Regions from separate parts of the Homo sapiens genome. Here region 2 is linked to region 1. Evidence: promoter capture Hi-C in 16 types of primary human blood cells and fetal thymus (Javierre and others, 2016). All regions are on one chromosome and are shown on one strand. The core of a region is centred on a gene start or on the middle of the fragment in contact, and the rest is flanking DNA. Distances in the headings are between cores, read along the strand shown. Region 1 holds the start of HUS1 (HUS1 checkpoint clamp component). Region 2 overlaps DPY19L1 (dpy-19 like C-mannosyltransferase 1).

Region 1 (3,445 bases), core at 499-2,998:
CTGGGTGATAGAGAGACTCCGTCTCAAAAAAAAGGAAATACGAACCTCATTCTATGAGTAGGAAGAGCAACTCTGGATTGTATGTATGCGCATGAGTTTGTGTATTTGTGTGTTTGGAGGACAGCTGTGCACTAAATTCATCTGGCAGTAGCATATAAAACATACGTGTACTGAAGAACGAGGGGCCATTTAAAGGTTATTATAGCAGATGAGGCAGGGTGGGAGTGGGGAGAAAACATGTCAAAGGTGAAAATGGATAGAGAAACCATGATTTCTAGACAAGGTGACAATACCACTACAAGAAACAGAGAGGCTGGAAGTTTCACGGCTTGGAAAAAGCAGCATTCTAGCTGAATGCATATGATAACAACACAATTTTAAAATGAGGAGGAACTGACTCTAATGCAAAATATAGTTATGGACCAGATCTTTAAATTTAAATAAACCAAACAGCTTTCAACAGTATTTATTGTTAAAAAGGCTAGGCTAACTATGTCTATTCCTTCGAGGCCAAGACTTCTGTGTTAGAAACCCTGACTCTCCTACTCACCAGCTCCACGGAGACCGTGAGGCAGGGAAAGTGTTTATTAGTCAGTTTGATTTTCAAAGCCCTGGCATTCTGGGCAGTCTTCAAGGCTCGAGATAAGTTTTCCGATGTTAGCTCTAAATAAATCTCATTGTTTTCTGCAGAGACACCCTCCATTTGAAATTCGTTGAAGAAGTTCTCCTAAGGGAAAAAAAATGAGGGATGAGGGAGGGTATATGTGATCTTTCCAGTGACAATCTGCAGAGTGTGCAGGCCTCTCAGAAGCTTTTGCTCACCTGTTCCAGCTCACACCACATGCTCACTCCTCCATTAGCCAGCTTGTCACAAAGGATGAAGTTAAGCTTATCAGGGCTGATGCGGAGGGTGCAGGTTTTGGCAAGCTTGGCTATCATGTTACTGATTCCTAAAGCAGGGGTTAAAATAAGGAATTACTAAAATGCACATTATGTATCCTAGAGACCAACTTATTTTGCAGAATTTCTTGTTCATCAACTTCTCGGTGGAAAAATAACCACTTAACGTTGGTATCACACTGGAAAGTACTTTAATACCCCTGATGTCACGCAATTCTCCCAACAAACTAGGGGAGATGTACAGCACACATCATCAGTGTTCAAATAAGAAAACAGGCACCTACCAGTCATTCATTCATTCAACATGGATTTATTGACTACTAGGTACTGCAATACACAGTTAAATGCAAGGTTAGGCACTGTCAGGGTGGAGGGACGAATGGGGCCTTGAAGGTATGTCAATGCCTGATAAAGCCGTCTATGGGAGCAGTGGCCGCTTTTTTTTAAAGCCACGTGATCGGAATCAAGTTTCAGAAACGTCCCTTGAAAGCCGCCTTCATCCCCACAAGTGCCCTCCGACCCGCCCCGCGCCCTCCCGGCCCCACCCTCCCGCGGCCTACACCAGCACCCCCATCCCGGCCCCATCCTCCCGCGGCCCCTTCCGGCGCCCATCCCCGTTCTGATCCTCCTGCGCGGTCCCCACCGCGCGCTCACTGCTTCCTTCCGTTCCTCCCTCGCTCCTCTCCGGCCTCCCTGCTCACGTGTGAAGTGGTTCAGACAGGCCCCGTCCACGATCTTGGCCCGAAACTTCATGGCCGCGGATGGCGCAGCCGCGGCGGGCCTCTGTGGGTAACAGAAAAGCGTCGCGCCCTGAGTGTCCCCGCCCGGAAACACGGCAGCGCGAACAGTGGTTCCGCCCGGCTCGGGCTACGCGACTCTTACCAGGGTTATCTCCGGGCCACGCCCCGGAGGAGGTGGGGCTAGGGGGTCACGCCCTAGAGGAGGTGGGGTCACGGGTCAAGGATCACAGGTCACGCCCCGGGGGAGGTGGGGGTCCCAGTCTCCGGGTATGCCTCCGCGCTGCCGGGTAATGGTGGGATCTACTTTTAGTGAGGCGGAGGCTTCAAGCCCCAGATTCGGGGAGGTTGTTCTGAGAATTCACGTTTTGAAAGAATTTTGTGACACCTATTTCAAGTGTTATTTTAAAATATCCAAATAAAATTAATCGTTTATAAAGGTTAAACAATATTATCTTAAATATACCTAAGGTAGAGCAGCTTTAAACCCTCCAGCCTCAGATGACGGTACTGGTACTTTGGTATTGAAGCATCTTGGTGGATTAAGGTTCTGAAAATTGTTTCAAATGACTTCTAAAAAAATTGAACATATTACTGGCTAGTTGGTAAAGTCGGGAAGCTTAAAGAACACTGACGTTAAGTGATAATTCTGCAGTTTGCCTCAAGACGAACTTTATTACATCCGATAAAATTCTTATTAGCATAAATAATGTCATTAGGATTTTTTTTAAAGGAAAAATTTTAAAGGGGGAAATGAAGCAACAATTGTATCTAATTTGGTTTTTCAAAGACTAAAGATTATCTGTGTTAACAATTGTTATTTTTAATGTCCTTTGCAAATAGACTAGAACCTTGTCTTTAACTTGACACATAGAATCAAGATAATGATAATGCAGATGATGATGATGATGATTTTGAGACGGAGTCTGGCTCTGTCGCCCTGGCTGGAGTGCAATGGCGTGATCTTGGCCCACTGCAACCTCCACCTCCCGGGTTCGAGGGATTCTCCTGCCTCAGCTTCCCAAGTAGTTGGGATTACAGGCACAAGCTACCATGCCCGGCTAATTTTTGTATTATTAGTAGAGACGGGGTTTCGCCATGTTGGCCAGGCTGGTCTCGAACTCCTGACCTCAGGTGATCTGCCCACCTCGGCCTCCCAAAGTGCTGGGATTATAGGCGTGAGCCACCGCGCCAGGCCCAGATAATTTTCAAAGACACATGCACACATATGTTTATTGTGGCACTATTCACAATAGCAAAGACTTGGAACCATCCCAAATGTCCATCAATAATAGACTGGATAAGGAAAATGTGGCACATATACACCATGGAATACTATGCAGCCATAAAAAAGGATGAGTTCATGTCCTTTGCAGGGACATGGATGAAGCTGGAAACCATCATTCTCAGCAAAATATCACAAGGACAGAAAACCAAACACCGCATGTTCTCACTCATAAGTGGGAGTTGAACAATGAGAACACATGGACACAGGGAGGGGAATATCACACACTGGGGCCTGTTGGGGGGTGGAGGCCTGGGGGAGGGATAGCGTTAGGAGAAATACCTAATGTAAATGATGAGTTGATGGGTGCAGCACACCAACATGGCACATGCATACCTATGTAACAAATCTGCACGTTGTGCACATGTACCCTAGAACTTAAAGTGTAATAATAATAAAAAGGTGCAAAATACAAAAATTGCAGTTTTTGCCTATTTTAAGACTATAACATGAAGCAAAATTCTAATCTTCATTGTCATATGCGAGTGTTTGCCAAACCAAACTTAATAGATCACTTTCAAAG
Region 2 (3,445 bases), core at 327-2,826, about 13 Mb before region 1:
GACAATGTAGATTTAGTCAGTCCTCCATATCTGTCAGTTCCACATCTGCAGATTCAACCAACCTCAGATTGAAAATAGTAGGCGGAAAAAAAATCCATCTGTACTGAACACATGCAGATATTATTCCCTAAACAATACAGTGTAACAAATATATAAGTAACATTTACATTCTATTAGGTATTCTAAGTAATCTAGGCATGATTTAAAGTATCCAGGAGTATGTGTGTATGTTATAGGCTAATACTATGCCATTTTATACTAGGGACTTGAGAATCTGCAGATTTTGATATCGGAGGGAGGTCCTTGAACCAATCCCTCGGGGTTACTAAGTAACAACTTGCCTCATTAGCATGAACTTTAAGAAACATTAATATACCTAACACACTCATTAAGAGAAATTAATACAGCCTAATAGGATAAGTATTTACAATGCATAACAGCCACGGTTCAAATATTAGCAACATCCAAATACCCATATGTACATAAATAAAACTGTATGTGCTTTCAGTATTGATGCCATATTATTGGCCAAAAATCAATCACAAATAGATAACATATGCTTATATTTACATAAACTAAACTTATCAAATTTGTTATTTGGATGCTAATGAGCATCACATATTCAGAAAACTTCTAACTGTATCTGTTAATAATAAAATATGTTTAGGTGATTATAAACATTCTTTAGAGTTAGCCAGAAGTCTATCTTAGAAAGAAAAAAAAATGGCTGTAAACATTAAAGAAATTCTTTAAAATCCCAAATTCCCATTGGCATAACCTCTATGAATTAACATAAACACACTCTCACAGCTGGTGCTCAGTTGGGTCTATGTGTCTGTTTGAAAGCAAGCACACCAAGATGGCCTGTGTCCCTGTGCCTCATGCTTCCTTAGCTTTTCTTGGCCCTTATGCCACCCCTAATATGCTCTTTCTACTTGTTGTTCCTGTATCTCTAAGTATGACCCTCTTTTCCTTCTTTTTCCTGGGGAAGGAAGAAACAAGAAAACTAACATTTATTGAGCACAAAATGTTAGGGTTTCTCAGAATTGGACTCTAGGGTTTCATTTCTTTTGCTGTACTGTCCCCTTAGAGGAGATGAAATATAGCATACTAGTTAAGAGCATGAACTTAGGAAACACATTGCCTGGGTCAAATCCTGGCCCTTCTACATTCTAGGGGTGACCTTGGACAAGTTACTTAATATCTTTGTGCCTCAGATTCCCCCCACGTGGTAAAACAAGCACAGTAATCATAGTGTCATGGTGAGGACTGAGTAAACAGTTAAATGAGTTCATCTAAAGCACTTCCAACAAAGCCTGGCAAAGAGTAAGCCCCCTATCAGTATAAGATGCTATTGTTCCCCTAAGTATGGAAATAGAAGTTCAATGGGAATACAAATTCAATTACCATTAATGTGAAAACCACCTATTTGCTGATGACTCCCTGTAGTACATCTCCACTCAGACCTTTTCTCTCATATCCCACCACTGATTGGCATTTCTACTTGGACATCTCACAAATGTCCCAAAAGTAACATGTCCAAGACGAAATTCTTGACCTTTTCCTTCAAACCCATTCCCTCATCCATACCCCTAGTCTTCACTATCTTGGTGAATGCCAGCATTATTTACCCAATTAGAGAAGCCAAAAATGTACAAAGTATTCATAACTCCTTCCTTTCCCTCAATCCAAGCCCAATTCATAAGTCCTATCATTTTCACCTCCAAAATACAACTCAAATTGACCAATTTCTCTCCATCTCCACAGCCACCGCCTTCATCTAGGCCAGCAACCCTCTTGCTAGGTCCGTGAACAGCCTCCTCATGGGTCTCTCCACTTTTGTCCTTGTAGTGCAACCACCCATTTTCCCAAGAGCAGATTTCTCAAAGTAAAAATTTAATCATGTCACTCTCCTCCTGTTGAGCATTCCTCAATGGCTTCCTGTTGCACTGAGAATAAAACCCAAGCTCCTTTTCAAGATCTGGCCCATGCCCATCTCACTTTGATGCACCTCCACCCTCTCTTCTTTCAACATGCTAAGCTCTGTCATACTCTTCTGTTCGGCTGACATCTTTTCTTTCTATCGGTCTCAGCTTCAAGGCTACCTCCCCAGAGACCTTTCCTGACCCTACTTAAAGAGGGTATTTCCTTTTTTTTCTATCTCAGCTTGTTTCTTTCCTGCAGTGCACTCATTCACAATGTGCAATTATTTTCATTTATTTACCATCCCCCCTTCCAGAATGTAAGTTCCATGAAGGTAGGGGTGACAGAGTCTCATTCTACATTTTACCCCACCAACTAGCATCTGGCTTAGTAGACGCTCAATGATATGGTATGACTGACTATGAATGAACTTACTGTGCTATTTTACATGTATTATCTCATTTATTTTTTACCATAATCAGACAAAGCATTTATTATTCCCATTTTAAGGGTGAGAAATATTAAAGGAGTGTAGAACAGCTCGAATGCAGAAACAGGATTCAAATGCAGGCCAGTGTTGATATGGCTATGCTGCTTCTACCACACCACATTGCTCCCCCCATCTAGTCCCCAACAGCTAGATTCAACTCTCTGCCTCCACCCAGTTTCTGACCACTTCTGCCTCTAAGAAGTCGCAAGTGTTTCCTACCATATGGGCTTCAAGGTTCTCGTAAGCTGTAGAGAATAAAAGCTGTGGTCCCAAATGACACAATTTTGCCTCCCAGGGTACAATGGCCAAAATCTGGAGACATTTTCGTTGTCACTACTGGGGAGATACCAGTGGCATCTAGTAGGTGGAGGCCAAGGATGCTGCTAAAATCCTGCAGTGCACAGGAAAGCCCCCTCAACAAAAAAATTATCCCACCCAAAATGCCACAATGCTGAGGTTGCAAAGCCTTGTCAATAAGGAACCAGGTTATAGCAGGTGTACCCTTGCCATTGACCACAGGAACCAGGTGGGCAATGGGAATGAGTCAAACAGGATTAATGCAAAGGGGGGAAAAGGTAGTTTTTATCATCCACTTTTCCCATACTCAGGTTCTTGTTTTATTGTTGTGTATATAGTATCTCATGTTAGTCTTTCACCACAGACATGCTTTGTTTGCATGTCTAATGGGTGTATCTTTTACTACCACAATTGTTTCCATGACGGAGCACTGGCATACATAAATAGACCAACAGACATATAGACTTATGCATATATGTACTGAGTTGCATTGTGGAAGTGTGAACAGGTTTAATATAAAATGTATTGTTACAATGTCAGCTGTGGTCAAAAAAGTTTGGGAAACATTGTCAAGGTTCTTACTATGTCACAGCCACCTCTGCATGAGGAAGCTATCAGGTTGAAACTTCTAAAAATAAACATGTCAAGAACCCCTCTTTACAAATATTAGCACTAAATAAGTAGCAAATAATGCCCCACAATAAGAAAAACATATATTTATGAAAAGAGACTTTT

The links. Contacts are between HindIII fragments. The CHiCAGO score rates a contact against its expected background, and 5 or more counts as called.
Region 2: a fragment that was not itself captured here is called in contact with the fragment with the promoter of HUS1 in region 1 in 1 of 17 cell types (total CD8 T cells); the score reaches 9.0 in total CD8 T cells.

Annotation. Positions count from the first base shown.
Region 1 is chr7:47,977,867-47,981,311 of GRCh38, forward strand. It overlaps HUS1 (HUS1 checkpoint clamp component), which reads right to left and starts at 1,749. Exons shown (of 8, transcript NM_004507.4): 1 at 1,602-1,749; 2 at 823-950; 3 at 551-727. The coding sequence starts at 1,653. RefSeq lists silencers at 1,270-1,319, 1,400-1,459 and an enhancer at 1,530-1,819. The HindIII fragment of the contact is 1,329 bases long and covers 926-2,254 here.
Region 2 is chr7:35,031,139-35,034,583 of GRCh38, forward strand. The region is part of intron 1 of DPY19L1 (dpy-19 like C-mannosyltransferase 1); the gene reads right to left. Among named protein-coding and RNA genes, the nearest start is that of DPY19L1, 4.6 kb to the right of the region's middle. The HindIII fragment of the contact is 6,354 bases long and covers 1-3,445 here.